Regions from separate parts of the Homo sapiens genome. Here regions 1, 2 and 4 are each linked to region 3. Evidence: promoter capture Hi-C in 16 types of primary human blood cells and fetal thymus (Javierre and others, 2016). All regions are on one chromosome and are shown on one strand. The core of a region is centred on a gene start or on the middle of the fragment in contact, and the rest is flanking DNA. Distances in the headings are between cores, read along the strand shown.

The links. Contacts are between HindIII fragments. The CHiCAGO score rates a contact against its expected background, and 5 or more counts as called.
Region 1: a contact is called between a fragment that was not itself captured here and the fragment with the promoter of NMT1 in region 3, in 1 of 17 cell types (neutrophils). The highest score is 6.1, in neutrophils.
Region 2: a fragment that was not itself captured here is called in contact with the fragment with the promoter of NMT1 in region 3 in 1 of 17 cell types (neutrophils); the score reaches 5.8 in neutrophils.
Region 4: a contact is called between a fragment that was not itself captured here and the fragment with the promoter of NMT1 in region 3, in 1 of 17 cell types (neutrophils). The highest score is 6.2, in neutrophils.

What each region holds. Positions count from the first base shown.
Region 1 is chr17:45,410,627-45,413,374 of GRCh38, reverse strand. All of the region lies in intron 4 of ARHGAP27 (Rho GTPase activating protein 27), which reads left to right. Among named protein-coding and RNA genes, the nearest start is that of ARHGAP27, 21 kb to the left of the region's middle. RefSeq lists a silencer at 1,219-1,406 and an enhancer at 1,249-1,749. The HindIII fragment of the contact is 2,542 bases long and covers 13-2,554 here.
Region 2 is chr17:45,383,783-45,386,482 of GRCh38, reverse strand. No RefSeq gene overlaps it. Among named protein-coding and RNA genes, the nearest start is that of ARHGAP27, 48 kb to the left of the region's middle. RefSeq lists an enhancer at 637-1,604. The HindIII fragment of the contact is 6,215 bases long and covers 1-2,700 here.
Region 3 is chr17:45,060,017-45,063,085 of GRCh38, reverse strand. NMT1 (N-myristoyltransferase 1) reads right to left here and starts at 1,769. Exons shown (of 12, transcript NM_021079.5): 1 at 1,626-1,769. The coding sequence starts at 1,756. It also overlaps a transcript of DCAKD not described here. RefSeq lists enhancers at 1,329-1,408, 1,351-1,645, 1,499-1,858, 1,006-1,997, 1,959-2,138 and 1 more. The HindIII fragment of the contact is 9,198 bases long and covers 1-3,069 here.
Region 4 is chr17:45,321,163-45,323,880 of GRCh38, reverse strand. No RefSeq gene overlaps it. Among named protein-coding and RNA genes, the nearest start is that of MAP3K14, 5.5 kb to the right of the region's middle. The HindIII fragment of the contact is 3,763 bases long and covers 1-2,718 here.

The sequences.
Region 1 (2,748 bases), core at 34-2,533, 350 kb before region 3:
TCAATGGAAGCTTCTGCCCCAAGCCCAAGAAAAGGGTCTCACCTGAAACCGTTACATTTGGAATCTCACCCCACATCCATGCAATAAGATTACACTGAGTCAGCCGGGCTGCTCATGCCTGTAATCCCAGCATTTTGGGAGACCAAGGCGGCGGATCACTTGAGGTGAGGAGTTTGAGACCAGCCTGGCCAACACGATGAAACCCCATCTCTACTAAAAGTACAAAAATTAGCTGGGCATGGTGGCAGGCACCTGTAATCCTAGCTACTCAGGAAGCTGAGGCAGGAGAATCACTTGAGCCTGGGAGGCAGAGGTTGCAGTGAGCTGAGATCGAGCCACTGCACCCCAGCCTGGGTGACAGAGTGAGACTCCATTAAAAAAAAAAAAAAAAAAAAAAAAAAAAAAAAAAAAAGATTATACTGAGCCGTGGTGCCACACCTGGGAGGCACAGTCAAATCACCCAAGGAGGCTTAAAATTAAACACTTTCCCCAGGTCCCGGCCCAAACCACTTCCATCAGAATCTCAGAGGGCTGAGCTAGGCACAGTTCCCCAAAGCCTACTGAGGCCTGAGGCCCAGGATCCTGTGGGGTCACCCCCAGCTCCTCCGATCCTGCCCCTGGACATGTAGCTCTGGGCCAGGCCGGGATGGTTAAAGGGAGACCCAGTTTCTGTCCTGGAGAACATGTGTTTGGGGGAGGGACCTGTCGTGTGGACATGACTGAGCTCCTTGAGGCAAAGATCACCATTCCTTCTGGCTCTCCCTCCACCTGGCTTGGGTGGCACAGAGCAGACTCACTGAGTCAACAAAGGACACCATGTCCCCTCGCCAGCCCCTGAGCCAGTTCCTGGGCCAAGTCCTGGTTTGGAGGCGTTCATTTTGCCTCTAGCCCCAGAGGACTGGGTCTTCCTAGTGCACCTGCTCCTGCCCCAGCACTTCCTATGAGGGTTTGGGAGGGAAGAGTGAGGTCAGAGTGGGGAAAGGAGGGGTGTTGTGCAGCTGGTTTGTTCTAGAACCTCTCCTGACCCTCCCCCTTGTGCCTCTCAGAGGCATGAGGGTGTGGTGGAGGGAGGTGGACCCCTCTGGGGAGCCACTGTGGTCATCACCTCCTCTCACTGGGGGGAGGGAATCCGAGACAGGGCCTGAGAGCCAACTTCTGTGGCCAAGAGCAGGCAGGAACTGTGTGAGTTTGTTCACTCCCTATAGTTTGGGGCTGGAGCCCCCTGGGAGACCCCCATCATGGGGGCCCAGCTTCCTACTGGGGAAGAGAAGCAGGTGAGATGCCAGGTGAGTTGCTGGCTGCCCATTCTGCAGTCCCAGCCCTGACACTGACACTCCTGGCTCTGCCATAGGGAGTCCCTGCCCCCCATGCTACCTGCAGGGCAATGCTGAGGGCCTGAGTTCCACACCTGTCCTCTTCTCTCCCCTCTCCACCCAGCTCCTCCCTGGTGGCTCAGAGTTTCTGGCCTCTCTGGAATTTACAGAGGCTATTCCTGTCTCTGAGGCCTGGTTGCATAACCCTTGGTGACCTGTCATATGCACGCACACGTGTGTAGTGTGTGTGTGTGTGTGTGTGTGTGAGTCCTCATCCCTGGCCTCAGGGTGGGGACAGAGAGATGGGTCAGGTGTGTGATAAGCATGAGGCCTCCAGCCTTCTGTGATTCCTGCTGTCCTCCACCCTGATAGCGAGGAGGGGATTAGTCTACCCCTGGGGTCTGGGCTTCTGAGTCGGGTACAGGGGATGGGACACTGGTATGAGAGCTTTTGTGGGCAGAGCAGGGCATGGGGCCCAGTCTTGCTCCTAGTGTGATCTCTACAAGTGTCTCGTGCCCCACATTCACACTGTGCCTGGCTCTGCTTGGGGTCCTTGTCCCCAGCCCACAGTGGGTACAGGAGAAGAGGGGCTGAGAGACATGGCAGGGGAGAAAAAGAGATCCAGGGTGGGGGCCAGAGGAGGAAGAATGGGCCTAGAGTGGAAGGGTGGGGGTCAGAGCCTGACCAGGAAAGGAGGTGGACTTCAGCAGGGGTGGGCTGGTGGGCTTAGTGCTGCCTGGCCCTTAAGCCTGGGGAGGAAGCACTTCTAAGGGAGGAGGGAAGACAAGATGGACCCATGGGCTCAGAGGAGGGGCTGTAACTTCTTACTCAGGGCATGTGTCCACTGTGCGTGGCTGGGGTCTGTCATCCCCACACGAGGGGGTGAAGGGAAGAGAGGCCAGGAAGAAGATTTAACCTTCCTCCTGGAAGAAGCTGGTGCCTGGCCCTCTTCTCTGGGTCCTTAGAGAGGAGGGGACAGGCACGGGCATACTTGTACACGTATGTGGACACGCAAGTGAGAGTGGGCACATGTGGGCATGCAGGCGTGGGAGGGCATATGCATCTTGGTGACCGAGTCTGGAGGAGACAGACCCAGGTGGTCAGGCGGGCAGATAGTGATGTGGTCAGAATCCTTCCTGTCCTCCTCGGGGCTGGCACAGTCCAGATGCCAGCTCCCTGTGATATCACATCTGCCCAGACCCCTTCCTCTTTGGGAACTCTTCCCCTCCCCCCCACAAGCTTCCTCTTTCCCATTACACCCTCCCTGGGCCTAGAGGGAGTGGACAACCACTCATTGTCCTGTTTCCGCCCCAGGAGCCACTCCAGGCCAGCCCAGGCCCCCAGCACTCAGCGCCCCCTCTGCCCACCCTGTCTGTGCAAGCGCGCCCCTCCCCCACAGGCTCAGCCGTGATTCTCTCTGTGCAGTTCATGCTGT
Region 2 (2,700 bases), core at 79-2,578, 320 kb before region 3:
AAACTTTTTATTTTGAAAGAATTATTGACTTACAAGAAGTTACATAAATAGTACAGACAGGCCTGGTGCAGCCAGCACCTGGCTTCCCCTGGTGGTGCCGTCTTACGTAACCATTGTGCCTTATCAAAACCAGGAAAGCGATGTAACTAACTATAGACCTTGCTTGATTTCACCATTCTTTGCATGCACTCATTTTTGTTTGTCTTTGTGTATAATTCCATGACATTTTATCACATGCATAGATTCATGTATAGCCAGCACTGCAGCAACCAAGATACAGAATGTTCCATCATCTCAAAAGAAACTTCTTATGCTTCCCTTTCCACTGACATCCTCCCGCTCCTTCCCTAATCCCTGGCAACCTTGTCTTTATCCATCTCTATAATTTGCTTCTTTTGAGAATGTTAATGGATGGAAATATACAGTATGCAACCTTGCAAGGCTGGCTTTTTGCACTCTGCATAATGCCCTTAGGATCCATTCAAGTCATTGTTGGGTATCAATAGTTCATTACTTGTTACTCCTGAGTGGTATCCTACAAATATGCTTTTAAAGAGATTTTCCCAGCTGTGGCTGAAGGAGGGAGGGAGGGGACCAATTAGGAAGCTGCTGGTGTTCAAGGAAATATCACAAGACTTCCGTCCTGGCCCAGGCCCCACACCACCTCTCTGCAGCCTGGAATTGGCCCTAGAAGTGTTCAGGCTGGACCTCACTTCAGACAGGGTTGAAGCGTGAGGGCTTGGGAGTCTTGAAGCTGAACTGCCAGTAGGGGGCGCCAGAGGCCTTTTGCCCAAGGGGCGATTCCGAGGCGGGAACAGCAGGGAGTGTTAGAGGGAGTTTTGGGCTGCTATGCATGGGGCCAAGAGAATCCTGAAGTCTTCGCCCTCTCTTGACCCCAGCCCCCATGTTTCCGGCCAATCCTGAGCTTCGAGGCTGGGGGATGAGGCTGATGACATGTAGTCGAGGAGAAGGTGAGGTGAGGCTTGGACCAGGAAGAGGAGGTCTGGGGTCAGGCAGAGGGAGGTCCCTGTGGGCCTGGGGTTCCCCATCAGAGGGCGGATCTGGGCTCAGGCCACCGGGCCGGGCATTGGCACCTCTGCCTCACCCATCCTTCCCATCCTCAGCAACCAAGGATTCTCCCAAGAGAAGTCTCCCCAGACCCTGGAGCGTGTGCTAGCCCCTCTTTGCTCCCACGCTCTATACCTGGCTCTTGCCTCCCTGCAAGATGCCTTTCCAGATGCCCCACCGCCCCCCACTCAGTGCCTTACCCAGCATGCTGTGGGCTGCGTGGATCCCGCACTTGTGCAGGGCGCAGAGTGGGCGCTTACTGAGCTCTGGCACCTGCTAAGTGCTGAGGAGCCAGGAAGAGGTGCTCTGTCCCCAGTATCCCAGGGGCCTTGGCATTCAGCCGCCTCTGACTCCTGTCTGCTTGGTGGAACATTCCTGAGCAGCAGGTACTCTCCTCAAAACCCGCACGGGTCCTCCATGCCCTTCAGAGCTCAGCTCACTCTCCCTGTGCGATCTTTGCCCCGTCCTCGGCTCCTTGTCCTCTGGCTGACTCTCTCCGCTCTCACGCCAATGCCCAGCCTCCCGGGATGCCTCTGCTGTCCGTGCAAGCCATGTGGGTCTCGCCGCCACGCCCTCGCCCCCATTCTCTGCCTCCTGCCCCACCACCACGAAGCCTTCCCCAGGGCCTTGCATATATCAGGCTTAAAAAATGTGAGCCCCCATCATCTGTGCCCCCACAATGCATGGGCATGTGGACTTCGTAATAGAATCTCCTTCATGTGGCCTGGTCTCGTCACTGGCACACAACACACCTGTCACCTCCAGAGGCTTCTCATTCATTTCTGATCACCCAGAGCTTGGCACACAGAAGGGGTCAAGTGAAGTTAGATTGAATAAATGCATGAATGTGCCAGTTGTCATATCTTTGAAGCCTCCTCCTGTGACTGGTTGCCCCTCTGATTGCTCCTTGGTGGTTTTCCTTGTGGGCACTCGTTCCCCTGTGGCCTGTAAATGCTGGCAGGCCGCCCTCTCCTCTGCTCAGCTCACTCTGCCCCCTCCCTAGGCAAGCTCACCCATCCAGCCAGCTGTAACTGCTGCCCTTCTGCTGCCAGGCCCCAAATCCATTCCACAGCCTGGAGCCCTGAGCCCCAGGCATACCTCCCACCACTTCCTCTTTATTTGCTTGTCTTTATCTGTCCTTCCCCCATCTGTCTTTCCCACAAACGTTAAGCTCCATTACAGCAGGAATTTTGTCTGTCTGATGGACAGCTGCATGCCTGGTGCCAGCACATGTTCGGTAAATATGAATGAATGAATGAACGAATGAATGAATGAATGAATGAATCTCCCTCTGAGGTCATGTAAACACTTCCAATTCAATGTATCCCAGATTGATTTTGTCATCTCCTCTCTCCCCATAATTTCCTTCTCCTGTCTTTGCTACCTCTCTCCTCCCAGTCCCCCAGTTTAGAAATCCCAGTGTTGGCTGGGCACGGTGGCTCACGCCTGTAATCCCAGCACTTTGGGAGGCCGAGGCAGGTGGATCATGAGGTCAGGAGATCGAGACCATCCTGGCTAACACGATGAAACCCCGTCTCTACTAAAAATACAAAAAATTAGCCGGGAGTGGTGGCGGGCACCTGTAGTCCCAGCTACTCAGGAGGTTGAGGCAGGAGAATGGTGTGAACCTGG
Region 3 (3,069 bases), core at 520-3,019:
CTACAGGCGCCCGCCACCACGCCCGGCTAAATTTTTTGTATTTTTAGTAGAGATGGGATTTCACAGTGTTAGCCAGGATGGTCTCGATCTCCTGACCTCGTGATCTGCCTCCCAAAGTACTGGGATTACAGGCATGAGCCACCATGCCCGGCCCTTCCTGTGATTTTTAATGCCGGCTGAAGAACATAAAAGCTAGATCTTTTAACCTAAGATTTACCACAAGCAGATTATAAACCACTTAAATACAGTCATGCTTCACTGAACGTCAGGCATATGTGCTGGGAAATGCATGGTTAGGTGATTTTTGCCTTGCCAACATTATAGGGTGTACTTACACAAATCTAGATGGTATAGCCTACTAAATGCCTAGGCTATATGGTGTACATTACAGTAACATGCTATACAGGTTTGTAGCCTAGGAGCAATAGGCTGCTGCATGTTACTGAGTACTGCAGGCAACTATAATACAATGGTAAGTATTTGTGTATCTAAGCATACCTAAACATAGAAAGGATACAATAAAAATATGTACTATAATCTTGTGGGACCATCTCTTCTACGCAGTCCTTGGTCTTTATACCTTTATATCTGCACTGCCACCAATACTGCGAATAACAAGCTGGCTACGAAAATCAGACTACCTCAGACTCAGCAAGTTATACACCCAAAAATCTCTCACGACTTTCAGTTTAAAAATATATCTACAAATATAGACAGGAAGATGGGGAGAGACAGCGTGAGTGCCAGTGCCAGGCACTAACCATGTGAAGAAAGATGAATAAGCTGTGGCTTACAGAAGTAAAAACTAATTTGGGAAAAGAATTCAACATTCAAATGCCTGGTGTGTTTCTTCATCCCTAGGAACAAATAGTAACTAATGGCAAGACCCTAAAGTACAGGATAGGCAGTATGGAGCCCGAGGATTCCAAATACTCTCCAAGAAACAACATCGCTCATTTCTTGAAGCCTGGGGCTGCTCTGCAAAGGTAACAAGGCAAAGATGTTCGAAGACTTAATTATATTAATATATCGTTCAGGATACTTATGGATTATTTGGAGCAATGGAAACTATGTAAATCAAAGCATTACCATACCGTTAATTACATAGGTTTATAAGGTGAGTTTATATTTTGGGATTCTCTGGTAGTGATATTTTACAATATAATTATACATACAGTTTGTATAGTCTGATGAGTTTCCTCACTGAGGGTGAACTGCTGCGAAATGTTTTATGATTCGTTTATTGCTAGTCACGTTGTTCAAACAACACGTCTATAAGTAACGTTCCCTTTGAACTGTACTGTTACTAGACTGTCCTGTGTTGTACCATCGAAAACCATCGTCCAACATGCTCTTTTCCCAGGAATGGCCTGAAGCACACGAGTGGAACACTGCATAGAACTTTTATATAATAAAAGTACTGAACGTCTCCGGCCCTTAATATCCAGAGCACCCACCCTTGGTAAATGACAAAGGCAATAACCAATCGCCAGGCAGAATCCTAGTGACTTAGCCAATAAGAACATGAGGGTGGGGCTAGACTAAGCTCCCGGTGACTTCCCCGCACCCCAGAGACCCAGGTTGTGGGAGGCTGGACGGGAATTGGACTCCGAGGATTTCGTTACCCCCGGTTGTAGCTGTTGTCCTCCTCATTCTCGCAATCGCTGCAGTGCTCATGGCCGTTCCCGTTCCCTTCCATCATCTGCGGCAGCGGAGGTGCCGGCGGCTTCACTGCTGTCTCACTCTCGTCCGCCATCTTGAGTTGCGAGAGCAGGGCTCCGCGCCCCACTACATGGGGGGTTCCTATTGGACAAGGGGAATTTGCGCTGCATTCTGGGTTTTGTAGTTTTTCTGGCGAAGCGAGCTGCCACTAGGAGCGACTCTTTCCCAGGAAACTGACTACAATACCCAGGAATCACGAGGGACGGCTCCGGTCGGATTAAGAGGCGGGGCCACTGATACCCGGAAGCCTAGGCATTCGGCCACGCTTTGAGGAAAGAAGGGGCGCAAGGTTGGTGGGACCGACCCTTGGGAACCGGGCGGCCGCCTGGCATGATGGGAGTTGTAGTTCGATGCTGGTTTAGGGTTTCAGGCGTGGAGGTTCCAAAATCCGAGGTTTGATTTCAGCCTGCCCTTGCCAGTGCCTGGGCCGCTGGGAGCCGTTATTGGCTGCCGTTAAGGACCGTTACGTTTCCCGGGTAAGTGAAAGGGCCTGAGGCCCGCGGGTGCTACCTGCCTGGAGCCGGAATGCCCCAGGCCTTCTTAGAGTGGGCTTTTCCGCAAGAAGCCTAGTTGACTCCTGGCCGCCTTCCTCACTCGGGAGTCTGGGCAACCTGCGGTCATTGGCAGTTCAAGGTCTCATGAGAGGCAGTGGATTTTTTTGTGCGAAGCACTGACCCTAAGCCAGGAGACCACACTGCTAGGGAGGCAGGGCTCGCCGCCTCATCTTGGCCTCCAGGTACTTATCTTCGCCAAGCTCTTTCGCGCACACGTGGTCCCTTTAATTCCCCACAAGAATTTTCCACAACGACCCTTTTTTTCTTTTCTTTTCTTTCTTTCTTTCTTTTTTCTTTTTTAAATACGGCCGCCTTCTGTCGCCCAGGCTGGAGCGCAATGGCTCAAGATCACAGCTCACTGCAATCAAGGTATCCTCCCACCTCAGCCTCCCAAGTACCTAGGACTATAGGCATGAGCCACCACACCCGGATAATTTATATATTTTTTGTAGAGACGAGGGTCTCGCCTTGTTGCCCAGGCTGGTCTCGAACTCCTGGCCTCTAAGGATCTTCCTACCCCAACCCCGCAAAGTGCTGGGATTACAGACGTGAGCCACGGCACCCAGCCCACATCAACTCTTTCTTTAATAAGTGCCAGACTCTGTAGTAAGGCATTTCGTACATTATCTCATTTAATCCTCTCAACAAGTCTACAATATAGGTCCTATTATTATTATTCAACCTTTGTTTTGTTTTGTTTTGTTTTGAGACGGAGTCTCTCTCTGACTCCCAGGCTGGAGTGCAGTGGTGCGATCTCGGCTCACTGCAACCTTCGCCTCCTGGGTTCAAGCGA
Region 4 (2,718 bases), core at 170-2,669, 260 kb before region 3:
AAAGCTGGCGCTCCTCTTCTTCTTCCAGAATCCTCTCTTCTCCTGCGGCTCCCAACCTCTGCAGCCTCAACCTCCACCTCCCAGGTCAAGCGATTCTCCTGCCTCAGCCTCCTGAGTAGCTGGGATTACACACGTCAGCCACCACGCCTGGCTAATTTTTGTATTTTTAGTAGAGACGGGGTTTCTCCATGTTGGCCAGGCTGATCCCAAACTCCTGACCTCAAGTGATCTGCCCGCCTTGGCCTCCCAAAGTGTTGGGATTACAGGCATGAGCCACTGCACCTGGCCTCCCTCTCCAATTCTTAACAATTGAGACCCTCCAAGTTTCAGGCCTAAGCCCCTCATTTCTCTACACTCTCTCCCTTGGAGTCCTCATCCACTACTGGCTGTATTGAATCATTCAACAAACAGTAGTTGAGCACCTATTTGGTGCCAGGCACTTGACTAGGCCCTGGTGCCGGAGAGAGATGAATGAGTCATGAGGCCTGGCCTCAACAGGGGAGATGGACATGGTAACGATAGATGTGGAGGGTAGAAGGAATCCCTGCGCTGGTCCCGGGCTGTGTGCTCCCCCATCCAGCCCTCACCTGCTCTGCTCTGCATTGCAAGTGACTGACCCCTCTAGGCTCCCAGGCCAGTAAGAGGCTCTGGCAGGAAACCCAAAGGTAGAAGGGAAGGAGAATGCAGGGATTTCTCCCCATCCCTCTCAGTCTTAGTGGTATCTGTGGAAGTGGTTGTGTCTTCTCTATGGTTTCAACTTCTTCCAAGTGACCCCAGTCCCAGCCTTTGATTACACTGCCCCAGTCCAGTCCCTCCAACCCAGGGGTCGCAGCTGGATTCCTGGTTACTTCCCCCATTGTCTGAAGAACTTCTCCATCCTTTCATCCCCTATGTAACCAATTTCCTGCATTCAATTCTATGTTTATTCTGTTTAAAAACTCAGAGGCCAGGCGAGGTGGCTCACACCTATAATCCCAGCACTTCGGGAGGCCGAGGCGGGTGGATCACCTGAGGTCAAGAGTTCAAGACCAGCCTGGCCAACATGGTGAAACCCCGTCTCTACTAAAAATACAAAAGAATTAGCCGAGTGTGGTGGCAGGCGCCTGTAATCCCAGCTACTCAGGAGGCTGAGACAGGAGAATTGCTTGAACCCGGGAGGTGGAGGTTGCAGTGAGTCAAGATCATGCCACTGCACTCCAGCGTGGGTGACAGAGTGAGACTTCATCTCAAAAATAAATAAATAAATAAAATAAAAATAAAAATTCAGAATGAGGCTGGGCTTAGAGGCTCATGCCTGTAATCCCAGTGCTTTGGGAGGCCAAGGCGGGAGAATCGTTTGAGGCCAGGAGATCAAGATCAGCCTGGGCAACACAGGGAGACCCCTACCTCTATCAAAATTAAAAAAAAAAAAACCCTCAAAATGGGTCCTGTTTTCCTGGCTGGATCCTACCTGACATGATACAGTCTCCCCATCTTCTTGCCACACTTGCAGTGGCTTAAGTCCTCATCTGTTGCTACCTGTTCAAGGAAGCTCCCTAAGGGCAGGGACTGGTCTGGAGGTTCCATGCTTCCTACCCAGAGCCTGACACAGAGGAGCTCAGTGCATCACATTTGTGGCTGGCTGCAGATAAGAAACTGAGACAAGGTCATCTACTAGGAGGCAGTTCATGGAGAGAAGGGCTGGTGAGCAGAAACCAGGCTGTAAGGAGCCCACTTGGGTGGGAGATGAAGCAGACTTTCAAGAAGTTTGGGAGTGAAGGGGGAAAGAAGGCTGGGCTAACAGTGCAGGGGAAAGCCAGAACTAGCAAGGTTTTGTTTGTTTGTTGTTTTTAGGGTGTCCTCGGCTTGACCTCATTTGTAGGTTGAAAGGAAGAAGCGAAAGGAGGGAGATATCGAAGGGCAGGAGATGCTGGGACATTGGGAGTGGAATGACAGGACCTATGCGATCTCTTAGGAAGATTCAATTCACCAGAAGGCTTGAGGATAGTGTGGAGAGGAGACTAGAGGTAAGCAGGTGAGTCTGGAGGGGAAAATCTCCAAATCAGGAAATGAGAAGAATTTGTGTCAAGCCAGGGCACCCTAAGAAGGCTCCAAAGTTGGGAGAGGAGGCTAGATCTCTGGAAGGTGTGCCCAGGACCTGTTCTTGTAAGGTCATCTTTGCCCAGTACCCTCCAGAGTCCCCTACCAGCCCTCACCTCCATTCTTTGCTGAAATTGGCACTCCTCTCCCCCTCACCCACATCGCCATGGCCCCTCCTCTTCTACAGCAGCTCTGTGGTTTGTGGTGCCCCCTGCCATCTCCCTATGTGGGGTTGGTTTGGTGGGCAGCAGGCACAGGCCAGAACCAGCACACAGTGGTGTGCCAGCAGGTGTTTAACAACCAACTCAGGATGGGTAGCCCTGATTTATACTGTTTGCCAACTTCCATGGTATAAATACTCCCAACATGTCCAATTTCAAGCTACCAATATGAGATCACTGATCACAAAATAGCTAGAGAGAATGGATCACACTTTGCCTGCATCCATTTATCCATTTCCCCTCCTGCCTCCCTGGCCTCTCCATAGACCTCAGCTAACAGCAGCAGTAGGGCAGGTCCAAGCTGGGGAGGGCAGCAACAGCACTGTGGCTGCAACTTCAGGCAGTCCCGACAGGGAAAGGAAAACTGCTCTCCTCCAGGAACATCCACCCTACAGTCCCCAGTCATCTCTTATCTCAG